Regions from separate parts of the Homo sapiens genome. Here region 1 is linked to region 2. The links are contacts of gene promoters, found by promoter capture Hi-C in blood cells and fetal thymus (Javierre and others, 2016). All regions are on one chromosome and are shown on one strand. The core of a region is centred on a gene start or on the middle of the fragment in contact, and the rest is flanking DNA. Distances in the headings are between cores, read along the strand shown. Region 1 overlaps RTL1 (retrotransposon Gag like 1). Region 2 holds the start of LINC02314 (long intergenic non-protein coding RNA 2314).

Region 1 (6,133 bases), core at 3,305-5,804, 560 kb after region 2:
AACCCAAGGAGCTCTGAGCACCACCTACAAGGAGGCCAAGATGGACAGGGATCTTCACCTGACACCCATCCTGGCAGCCCAGAGAGCCAGGGGCCCCAGGTGTGACTGGGCTAGTTTCTGGAGGCCAGGAGAGGAGGCATGGCCAGCATTCCAGAGAACCCACCTCTCCCTTACTCCCCTTTCCATCCTCACAGCCTCCCCACTCCTCACCAGCTTCACCTTCCTCCTCAGCCCCCAGCCTCCCACCCTCCTCCCCTGTCCTCACCTCTCCCCTAATTCCCCCACCCCGGCCCCCCGCCCCAGGCTCAACTCTGCTCCTAAATATCCTCTCATCTCCTCTTCCAAGCTCTATTTTTAAAATCAGATTTCCTTTACTGTACAGGCGAGCTGACAGAGAGAGGTATTTGCTGAGGGATTTGTCCCCCCCATGGCCCCCCCCACACCCAACCCTTCATAGACACACGTTGGCAGCCCTGACCCAATGGGCCACTGGCTCAGAGGCAAGCAAGGAGCTGACCCGACAGAGGCTCTGGGCACTGAAGGTGGTGAGGCTGGGGCGTCTGTCTCTTGAGTGTTGGGGGGAAGAGGGTCCCATTCGAAGACCTCAAAGGCAGTTGTGACCCCAAACCAGCAGCATTAAATTCTGGGCTTCTTTTTTTTTTTTTTTTTTTCAAATAAGGCGGGAATTTTCAAATCAGTAGATATTTCTTAAAGAAACTGTCATGAGATTTGAGAACAACATGTATTGAGCCACAGCTGAAGGACTGAGAATATGATTTCTGCAAAGCGCAGAGAAGAGGCAGGGCCCAGGCTATGGCAGGCCAGCTGGTAGGCAGGTGAAGCCAGATGGGAATCCCAGAGTGCCCATCTAAAGCCAGAATTTGGAGGCCCGACAGGCCCCAACAACGCCCAAAGCCCTCCCAGAGAGGCAGATGCTCAGCAGGTGTGGAGGGAACCCCCTGGCCCTGCTTCCAAGGCCCCTCACTCACCTCCAGTGGGGTATTCGTCTCCAGGACATGAGTCTCATCTCCTTCCTGGTGATGACCTGCAAGATGGGTCTGCCTCCATTTCCTTCCATTGGGGATCGAGCACCGTGCCTGGCCCAGAAAAAGAATCAGGACATGCTGCTGTATGAATTAATGAATTATGGGCAGAGGGACGTGGTTAAACAAAAAAAAGAAAAGAAACATTTGGGGACAATAAAATCGAAATGCATTTGGAGGCTGGAGAATGGGAAACTCAGTCTTTTCAGAGAGAAGCGTGAGGAACAGGAAATGGAAGCTGGAAACTGTAGGTGGTGAAAAGTTCTAGTTTCATGCGAAAAGAACTTCAGCTTTATAGTTTAAGTAGAGAAGAGCAATCCAAAGATTTTTAATGTAAGAAATAATTGGTCCAATTTTCATTTCATGCTCAGGCATTTAGATTTTATGTTGAGGACATGAAATTTGACAGGTTTGAAGCTGGGAGTGCCATGATTAAAAGTGGGTGCCTTGCTAAAATGGTGAGGCTTTTTGTAGTGATGAAAACACGTTGAGATTTTAAGCAAGAGTTTCATAATTTGAGTTTCCTGGGAAGAAATCTGGACTTTGTTTTGAGGGATGACAGGATCAAAGTTTTATATCATGCTAAGGAGTTTGGATTTTTGCCAAAGGGTTTTAAGAAATGTGATGATGAGATTCTTGTTTGTGGGAGATAAGTATGCAGAAAAACATGATAAAATATATTTTACGGGTAACGGCTTTGGGATTCACATTACAAGCAACAAGGAAACACTGGAAATTGTAAAAGTAACAGCCACCAATTTAACAATCATGCGCAAACATTTTGAATTTCTATCTTGGGGGAGTGCCAATTTCAACCTGCAGAGCTTGCCTAGGAGGTGTGATTAATGTTGACACCAAAGTTGAAAGATTTTAATCAGAGGAGTTAAATGATCAATATTGCGAATATGAAAAGAAATTTGGAATTTATTTTGAGGCTCCAACATGATTAGACTGTTGCATATGCCAAGGAATTTGATTTAGCCAATAAAACTTTCTAACAGAGTGGCCTGGTGAGTTTTTTGCGTTTGATAAATAGTATGCAGTGAATTACAAAATAAAATTCACATTTTATGCTAAGAATTTTGACTTTTCTTCCATTTACAACTAAGAGACACTGTAAGATTTTAAAAGGAGTTATAAGATCAAATTTTATATATTGTCCTAGGAAGTGTGAATTTGACTTTAAGGGATGACATGATCAAATTTTTATATCATGTTAATAACTTTGGATTTAAGCCAATAAAGGGCTTACAGCAGGAACAGGATGAGATTTGGGGTTTTTTAATAGATCATCCTGAGAGAAACTACATGGTAAAATGTCGCATTTTGTGTTAAGTAGTTGGGACTTTATGTTACAGGCAATGAAGAAACCTCGAGAAGTTTTAAGTTGAGAAGTTACATGCTCAAACAAGTGCATTTTGGCACAGCTATAAGACAGGATCTCTATGATAAAGATGATATGATCAGATTTTGCTCACATGCTAAGGAGATGTGATTTTACAAAAGAGTTGAAGGCATTCAAGTGCTGTGTTTGGAAGGGGTGGGGGATGAGCTCATTGAGCTCATTGTTGAAATCTCATGCAGAGGCGTTCGGATGTCAGCCAGTAAAGCGTTTTAAGAAGTAAATTGATGAGGGTTTTGTCTCCAGAGAAACTGGATTGTAAACATATTTTAAGTTAAGGTATCTGGATTTGCTGAACCAGATAATGAATAAGCATCAGACCACTCGTGAGCAGAGGTATCCCCTGGGCACAAGGGCACCCAGGCTGGGCTCCATGCTGAGGAGACGGGTCATTTATAGACAAAGCATGTTTTTATAAAAAGAAGTTATATGATTAAATTTACATAGCATGCTAAGAAGTTTGGACACTATTTTGAGGGATGACAGAATTACATTTTTATGCCATGCTAAGGAATTTGGACTTCAGCCATTAAGAGTCTTGTTTTTTTTTTGAGAGGGAATCTCCCTCTGTTGCCCAAGCTGGAGTGCAGCGGCGCAATCTCGGCTCACTGCAACCTCCAAGGTTCAAGCGATTCTCCCGCCTCAGCCTAGGAGAAGTAGCTAGGATTACGGGCATGAGCCACTACTCCCGGCTAATTTTTGTATTTTTAGTAGAAACAGGATTTCACCATGTTGGCCAGGCTGACCTAGAACCCTTGACCTCAAGTGTTCCACCTGCCTTGGCCTCCCAAAGTGCTGGGATTACAGCTGTGAGTCACCGTGCCTGGCTCATTAAGAGATTTTTAAGGCAGTAACATGGCAGAAATTTTGTCTTGGGTAGAGTAGTCAGAGAAATTTTATAGTAAAATGTATTGTTCTATGCTAAAAATAATTAGACCTTATCTCATAGGTAATTAAGAGATAGAATAAAGCTTTAAGCAGAAGTTATAAGAGCAAATTCGTGTATCTTGCAAGGGAGAGTGACCTTTTTATTTTGAGGAATGACATGGTCAGAATTTTATATCATGCGAAGAGGTTTGGAATTAAGCCAATAAAGGGTTTTAGGAGTGACCTGATGAGATTTGGGGGTTCGTATTAATCAGTTGGCAAGTAAATTACACGGTGAAAATTTTCATTTTATGCTAAGTGGTTGAAACTTTACAGGCAATAAAAATGAATTTTTATATGTGTTAAATAGAGAAATTATGAGATGACCTTTATTCATCTTGCTAACAGTTTAAACTTTGATGTTAAGAAGTATTAAGATTTTTCTAACATGCCGAGGATATTAGATTTTGAGCTGAAGGCAGGAACATTGAAGGATTTAATCATTCACATGGTCGAATTTGTAAATATGTTAAGCAGTGTAGACTTTATATTAAGAGGGGGCATAATCTAGTTTTTAAATCGTCTTGCTAAGAAATTTAAATTTTCACCAATAAAGAGTTTTAAGTGAGAGACATGCTGAGATTTTTATTCCTGATAGATAAGTCTGCAGATGAATTACTTAGTTTTTGTATTTCAATTAGAATTATTTATTTGTATTTCAATTAGAATTTTATATTAGAGGTTTGGAATTTTACAGTAATAATGCATATCTCAGAGGACTTTTATGGAGAGGAAATGAGTTAATTTCTGCAATGTGCTATGTACATCATGATGATGATGATGATGATTCTTATAATTCCTATACCATGCTGATTTGTATACTGTGCTTTAAAAAAATGTGATCTCTACCTTGAGGAATGACAAAATAAGAATTTTATATTATATTAAGGCCCTTACATTTTAACCAGAGAATAGTTTTGGTGAGTTTACATGTCAGATATGTTTACGCTAGAAGGTTTGGATTTAATATTGCAGACAGTAAATAAACAGTGGAAGGCTTTAATCAGAGAGACTGCATGATCAAATTTAAGTGTCATGCTAACAAGGGTGTACTTAATTTTGAGAAACAGCAGATCTGAATTTTGTATCCTGTTGGAAAGCTTGGATTTTAGCCAATGAGTTTCACGTAAGGGGGAACGCAGTTTTTTTTTTTTTTTTTACGGATGGGTCCAGTGGCTTAGAAGAAAACTCAGAAGTAACAAAAGGTGTTAAATTTATAAAGAGCAGTAGCTTTACAGTTAATCTATCAGATAATCAAAGCTTAATTTGCTCTGCCCCAGCAGAGAAGAAATGTGCAAATAACCCCAACCAAGACATTCCCTTTCAATTCTGTCTCAGCCCACTAAAACCACCCAACACTAGATTTCCAAAAATCCACTCTGGGACCGTCAGATTCCAAAGATGTCACATGTTCCCCCCAACCCCCACACTCAATGTCCCAACTCTGCCAGATACATGTCTGTTGGGAGGGCTCAACCAGCAACAGAGAGAAAAAGATATTTGCTAGAAAGAGGAGACCAGACCCACTGGCGTTAAGAAGGGGACCTGGGAGGATAAGATTGGAGAGGCGTGCAGATATGCTTGCACTGGTGAAATTGAGGCCAGATGTGTGAAGTTCCAGAAGCCTCACAAAGAGGGCAGTCCTGGGAGAGTGGAGATTGTAGGAAGAGAAGGAGATTATTTGAAGATCTCCTCAACAGCTCAGAGGTCGGGAGAACATAGCATTGGAAGGAGACCAAATCGAGAAAGAGAAATTGGCCAAAAGTCTGAGTTAGAATCAAGTAACAAATATGCAGTTATCCAGCACATAGTAGGTATGTTATAAAATTTATGGAAAAAAAAAAAAAAAACCCAGACCTGTACACACCCCCTGAAATTTCTATTTTGAACATGGGGAAGGAAATAAGAACTATTTTGGGCTGCTGACCCAACTGACGGGACAGTGGCCAAGTGCCCATTTTCTCCTCTTCCACTGCACTGGTGAAACAGTAGGCATCTTTGCTAGAGATTCCCGCTCCACAACCAAGGTGGCTGGGCTTGCTCCAGAGCCCTGAGCCTGCCAGGGGTGGCTTTGGATGGTGCTGAGATGTGACCTCTGTGATTCTCAGGTGACCAAAGCAGGAAAAGAGGATTGACCAGGTGCATGTGCCAGGGGGGAATGGAGCAGCCTGTGCACCCTGCCAGGTACCCGCCTGCCACGGTGGCTGCTCCCAGCCACAGAATTTATGGGCTGTGAATTTCTCACATCTATGGAGGAAAAGGACAGGACAGGCAGACTGAATAAGCCTGGGAGGCAGGTCAGGGGTTGACAGATCTTCCCTCCCTGGGGGCACCCCAAGTGACCAGCCAAAGAGGCTGGCTCGATACAAGAAGGCTTTCCCCCATTTCTCTCTGCTCTGATTAGTTGGGCATCTGATTTGTCCTTGAGACCCTGATACTGCCACTTCACAAGATCCTAAACTACTGCCTTTACTCCCCACACTCCCCTTCCACCACCAGGTTCTGATCTCCACGGTCCCAGCTACTGACTGGACGCCATCACAACCTTACCAATCTTCAGAATACACTCCTTTCCATCCGACGAAATGATAGAACCCTCTGAAGACTCATTTGAGACGATGATGGAGCATAAGAATCCATCATCAAAACAAATGGAGTCCTCCGAGGGCTCATCCAACACCACCGAGGCGACGTCGGGCAGTGGAGTGCGGGGAGAGGCAGGGCCAGCCAGCGGCCCAGCCCAGGAAAAGAAGGAGCCCCC
Region 2 (6,244 bases), core at 2,278-4,777:
GCCTGTGCTTTCTCATTTATTCCAGGTGCCAATCCAGCAAGATAGGTGCTGGTGTTATACCCATTTTACAGATGAGGAAACCGCTGCTCAGTCAGACTTCCTCATCCTGGGTCAAGTGGGAATTCAAAGCAGAGGTCAAACTCGAAGAGCCTGCGTGCTTCATGACATGCAATACCACTCCTCAGTATTCCAGAGGCTTGTGGGGGTGATGGCAGCATCTTATTACATCCCAAACTATACAATAATAAATACAAATGGATGTAAATTAGTACTGCTGGGCAGATGTCACAGTAGCAAGTGTTTTGAATTTCCGCCTGAAGTCTCCTTCTGTAATGGGCAGGCAGCCTGTTAGAGCTGTGGGATTTAGAAATGTTCCCGCAGTTTGAACAGAACCACTGCATGACAATTAGAGGACGTTTCCAAATGGAATTTGTCCTGTGGAATTTTAGGGCAGAACTAATGTTATATTATAAATACAGACTCCACATACAATGTGAACTGCTAACTAACGGCTAATAGGGGAGAGCTAAAAACAACTTCAATGTTAAAAAAAAATCATTCAGTGCCTATTGAGCTTCTTCTGTGTGCCAGGTGTCGTGATACACAGGGTCCTCTTCCCGGAGTGCCAGGCTTGTCCAGCGGGAGACAGAAGCACATCCAGAGAAAACGAAAATATTTCTAGATGGAGGCGAAGAGAGTTCTAAATGTGAAAGTGATATATAATGAAGGTTTAAAAAAGGAAACATTGGCCGGGCATGGTGGTTCACGCCTGTAATGCCAGCACTTTGGGAGGCCAAGGCGGGCAGATCACCTGAGGTCAGGAGTTCGAGACCAGCCTGGCCAGCATGGTGAAACCCCGTCTGTACTAAAAATACAAAAATTAGCTGGGCATGGTGGCGGGTGCCTATAATCCCAGCCACTCGGGAGGCTGAGGCAGGAGAATCACTTGAACCTGGGAGATGGAGGTTGCAATGAGCCGAGATCGTGCCACTGCACTCCAGCCTGGGCAACAAGAGTGAAACTCCGTCTCAAAAAAAAAAAAAAAAAAAAAAAAAAAAAAAAAAAGGAAACATTTTCAAATAACAGTCTTCTGGCTCATAAGAATACCAGTCGTTTCAAAAGGAACAAGTTAAACTTGGGGAAATACTAGGAATGAATACTGACACTTAACGAAATATTGATTGAGGGTTACAGACTATTGAAGCCGAAATAAGTCCCTAGGGCTTCATTGCCCAATCGCAACCAAGACAGACCAACAGACTTTTGAGTGAGTAACAGCATACCACATTTCTGACATGTGTGTATTTCAACACGTTTGATTTATTGGTTAAGTGAAGTCACCGATGATCAAATATCCTTGATGGGAATCCCCAGCCCTCCCCATTGCCATCTGCATTTAGAGAATCCCAGGAATCCATGTGGGTAGAGGAAGGCGGGCAAAGAATAAGAGACTTTTAGGTCTGAGTTGGTCCATTAGGGAATTAGATGTGTTTGTGCTCATTTTAAGCAGAAGAAATACACTGCTAGAGGAAGAAGAGAATCCCAGCTCGAATCCTGCCCACTGGAGTCCATGGCACAACTTCCAGATGGTGATATTCAGATTCTTTTGATATTTCTCCAGCTAGGGATATGAAATACATACAAGAAAAAAAATCTTATGCCCTGGAGGAAAAATAAGCACATCCTAACTATTGACAATCTCGTGTTTGTATTTAAGGAAATGATCGCCTCCTATTTGAATGTCATGAGATCAGCCATCGGGACCACTAGAGTCTAAACTTGATAAGGCAACGTGAGGATCTGTGGTCCCTTCTGTCCCGCTCACCCAGCATTCCTGGTGCTTCAGACAGGGTCTGGGATGTTACAGGTGCTTAGAACGATGTCATGATCAAGTGACATGATGATTGATAGAGATGACTGTAGAATGGGGGCTATTCGAATGAGAAGTACCTTTTGGGCAGTAAGTTAAAACAATGGGTAGACCCTTGAGGAGTTCATGGTGTCATTTGATGATGCAGTCTTCGTGACCCTTTCCCTAGGGTTTTTTCTTTTTCTTTTCTTTTTTTTTTTTTTTTAACGGAGTCTCGCTCTTGTTGCCCAGGCTGGAATGCAATGGCGCAATCTCGGCTCACTGCAACCTCCGCCTCCCAGGTTTAAGCGATTCTCTTGCCTCAGTCTCCCGAGTAGCTGGGATTACAGGCGCCCGCCACCACGCCCGGCTAATTTTGCATTTTTAGATTCTCCATGTCGGTCAGGCCGGTCTCAAACTCCCGGCCTCAGGTGATCCGCCCGCTTCGGCCTCCCAAAGTACTGGGATTACAGGCGTGAGCCACCACGCCGGGCCTTCCCTAGGTTCTTAAATAACTGAGGAAGAATAACGAAGACCCAGGAAGAGATTCCAAAGAACACATGGCTAATTCACAGATAAGGGAGAAACACAATGTTTAAGAAATTCAGTAGCACCCAACAGCAGACTGAAAACAAGTTGGGAAGTGGACTCTCTCACGGAGCTCAAACACTCAGGCAGCATTTGCATCTCAGAAGTAATTTTTGAGAATTCATTTGAAGAAGGAAGGATTTTCCTTTCCTTTCCTTTCCTTTTACAGGATGGTTCCCCCTAATGAACTGTTTTAAGCGGACGAAAGAATTCATTTGGCACACTCTTGCTTAAAACCCACAGGAAAAAAAGCAAAGTTCTCTTAAGGATGTCAGCTCCAGACTAGAGCAGTCCGTTTGAAAAATCTTGGTTTTGAGAAAGTGGCAGAATTACATAATTATTCACAACTCATAAGACATTAAAATACTTCTTCCAAATATGAAGTTGTGAGATAACAAAAACCACAAATTCTAGACTTGCGGAGGGTGTGTGCATCTTTTACTCTCCCACACACAAACCCACATCAAAGAGTCTGGGTGGCGCTGGGCCGGAACTCGTGGCCGCGCTCGCCTTGGTGCGCCTGGGCCACAGGAGGAGGCTGCTGGGGCCGCTCTGCCGCCGCACCTCCCTGAAGGAGATCCGGGGGCAGTGGGGATGCTAAGGATGCAGCGCCGGAGAGGCAGGTGGCGGCCCCTGCGAAGAGGTGGTCCCCGCAAAGCACACGGAGACCACGAGGTTCCTTGTCGCCCACTCACAGCAATGCTGCACGAGGTGAGGAACGACCTGGAAGAGTCCCAAAGTAAAGGCATCGGGTGATGAGAGGAATCTGGGGGTGGAGAAGTGGTCAGACGAGCCCCAGGGCTCTGTCATTCTGGAAGGGAGCCCCTGCCCTGTCGTTCTGTGTGGGCATAACTTTGAAAATCAGGGCACTTCATTTAACAAGACTCATTTTTAAAAGCTCATGTTACCTGTTGAAAACCCAAGGGAGACTGGCCTTTGGCGGATGGATTAAGCGCCGCTCATTCAGTTCCATTTTACGGAAGGACCTGCCTCAGCCCCGTATGAGGCTGCGGGGATTCCAAAGTAAAGTCAAGGAGATGGGGTTCCTGCCTGCAAGGAGCTTCCCACCTAGCAGGGCCGTCCGGTGGGCAAACTGTGGGCACTGGATGAGCAAATAGTGCATTTTGCTGACGACAGGAGACGCAGGTGGCGGGGGGGTGCCCAGGAGCCCGAGAGGAGGGGTGTGGTGGAGGGCGGGAAAGGAGGGGTGGGGTGGAGGGCAGGAGACGAAGGGTGGGGTGGAGAGCGGGAGAGGAGGCTGAGCCCTGGAGCGTGGAGTGGGCATGGGCCAGGGACACCGAGAGAGCAGCCTGCGCAGAGACGATGGGGCAGCAGACAGGCCTGTGTGTCTGAGGAGGGGAGCCTCCAATGGAGAAGGCTGAGGAGTGGGTGCAGGCAGGAGACTGTTGAGACTGGCCGTGGGGAACCGCAGATGGGCGTCAGCTGGGGAAGACAGTCTAGCCGCACTGGAGAGGCAGGACTGTGGGGTCAGACGAGGGTGGGGCTGGCCTTCTGGGAGAACCCCAGAGGCTCAGCAAGAGGTACCACAGGGCTTGAGCTGTTGAGACGGAGAGAAATGCTGAGGATGTGGCCCGGACAGGGCCCAGAGGGACCCGGGCCTCCCTGCATAGGTGCTTGGCAGTGCCCTCTCAGTGGTGGTATCAACTCCTGGGCGAAGGCGAGAAGATGGCTGGTGAATACAGCCTGCAGGCAGGCAGCATATTTAATAAGATTAGGACTTGGGAGAAAAGTCCTGGGCTTGTAGGTGGGAGCTGAGGCCACCGCAGGGTGGGCGTTCCTGGACAGTGGGTATTTAGAGAGCAGAAGAGACCGCAGGAACAGCCCGAGATGACCCAGCCTCTAGAGGTGGGCTCAGGAGGTGGGGGAGGAGCAGCCGGGAGGGTGGGAGAAGCCCCCATGGGGAGCGGCACCACCACAAGACTGAGGCAGTGGTGGGAAGGCCACGGAGACCTCCCAGAAGAAAGGGCTGAAAAGTCTGTGGAATCCTCTGAGTCAGAAGGTCCTGGGAACCATTGCCCAAGCAATTCCTGAAGGCAGAAAGAAGCCTCATTGCATCGGGCTAAAATGAATGGAGCTGGAGGAGCGGGGATCTTGGAGGACCGAGTCTGTGGCTGACTCATTTCAGGGTCCACTGTAGTGCTTGGCACACAGTGAGTGCCCAATCCATACCTTCTAATTAGAAATATTTCCCTCTATTTCCACAGACCTCCATTAGCAATGCCCTTTCAGCAGTGTTAGCTTATTTAACATTTATAAAAGCATGTATCCTCGAAACAGGAGACAGGCTCATGAACTTGACCAAGGAAGAGCAAGTGATCAACTGCAGACCCATCCAATTGGTGTTTTTCCATTTTTCTCGTTGGTTGTCATAGCCTCCCCTGCCGAAGGCATCTTATCTTTGCTTGCATGTTAACTGCCTAAGGCACAGAGTTCAAAAAGCAATTTCCATCTCATGCTTTGAATACCTTCCATGTGCCAGAACCATGAGGGTCACGGGGCTGCTGCCCTTCGGGATCTCACAGTCTAGTGTTTTTGCTTAGCATGGTGGAAATTGGATAAAATCAAATTCTCTGAAAAAATCATACTTTAAAAGGAGGTACGGCCCAAGGAGCATCAACAGCACCCCATTTGTATGTGGAACCCCTTGAAGGGACCAGATAATCAAGAGAACTGTGTGACAAGAAAACAATGGCTGCAAGAATAAGGGCACTGTCCTTAATAAAGCTCACCTCTGGAGAATTAACTAGCCTTATGCCAGAGTAGCTCTGACAGTGAAGGGGTTAAAATAACAAATAAATGACTTTATTTAGATTTCAGCATTTCTGGCATTTTTTTTCTAGCTTTTTTTTTTTTTTTTTTTTGCCAGAGTATTTGATGTGACAGGTTTTGTTTGCTCACACTTGTCTCTCTTTTAAAATTCTCATATCAGCAGTAAAAGCTATTTCTTTTTCCTGTAACATCTTGAGCTTGGTATCCAATGATGGGAGAAATGGCTCTTGCGTTCCTTGAAATTATAATATTATGCCTAATTTTGGGGGAGAAAAATTAGGGTAATTTAGATCTGGAGCCGCTGAAGCCTGCAGGCAGGTCAGTTGCAGCATTATTGCTGATTAGTTATCTAAAAAGTGTTTTCGCCCAAGGGCAGGCTCTGCCATTTCTGGCATTCTATAGAAAGGCTGATGTCGAGGCCTGTCTGGTCAAGGAAACGATGGTCATCACCCATTTTCGAGGTGGCAGTCTGGGCTCAGTGGGCTCTGGTTAGGGAGTGGAGAGCCTCAGACCATCCCCCGATTCACTGTTAGGGAGCAAGTGAACGAGTGGGGGCAGAGCAAGCATGCTGTCCTGGCTCTCTTCATTAAGCCGCCTATCACTATCAAAAGCCTCACTGTCATCCTTGGTACCACTGGAACTCTGAACGCACAAGTGCTCTTGCAAAGGATGCCTCTTTGAAGCAGGCGATTGGCTTCAGGCACCGATGATCTGGAAATCATTGGTGCAAGTGGAAAGGTTACAGAGGGAAGTCTGTCTTTTCTTGACTCTGCGAGATCATGTATAGACTATAAACAAACCAGAATGTGTTGCTAATCATTTTAAAAGCAAGTTTGAAGTTTACTTATAGGAGTGAGACTCTGCTGTCTTTTCTAGTTTCCTTCACTTTCCTCAGGCCTCTTTGGGTCCCTTCTGGTCCCCGCAAGGGTGCTACCTCTTTAGCCACTGATTTCCAGGTGAGCATACACGTCCTTTGTGTGCGTGGCTGGTGGGAGCTCTTTGCTCCTTACATCTTTT

The links. The method cuts DNA at HindIII sites, captures the fragments that hold promoters and counts their contacts. A CHiCAGO score of 5 or more calls a contact.
Region 1: a contact is called between a fragment that was not itself captured here and the fragment with the promoter of LINC02314 in region 2, in 4 of 17 cell types (M1 macrophages, M2 macrophages, M0 macrophages and 1 more). The highest score is 7.1, in M1 macrophages.

The regions. Positions count from the first base shown.
Region 1 is chr14:100,884,613-100,890,745 of GRCh38, reverse strand. It overlaps RTL1 (retrotransposon Gag like 1), which reads left to right. Exons shown (of 4, transcript NM_001134888.3): 4 at 5,872-6,133. The coding sequence starts at 5,958. It overlaps MIR136 (microRNA 136), which reads right to left and starts at 6,044; the gene lies at 5,963-6,044. It overlaps MEG8 (maternally expressed 8, small nucleolar RNA host gene), which reads right to left and starts at 1,097. Exons shown (of 51, transcript NR_146000.1): 1 at 990-1,097. RefSeq lists enhancers at 1,092-1,261, 1,921-2,090 and a silencer at 4,760-5,054. The HindIII fragment of the contact is 160 bases long and covers 4,475-4,634 here.
Region 2 is chr14:101,439,359-101,445,602 of GRCh38, reverse strand. LINC02314 (long intergenic non-protein coding RNA 2314) reads right to left here and starts at 3,527. Exons shown (of 2, transcript NR_135240.1): 1 at 3,346-3,527; 2 at 1,288-1,621. The HindIII fragment of the contact is 14,900 bases long and covers 1-6,244 here.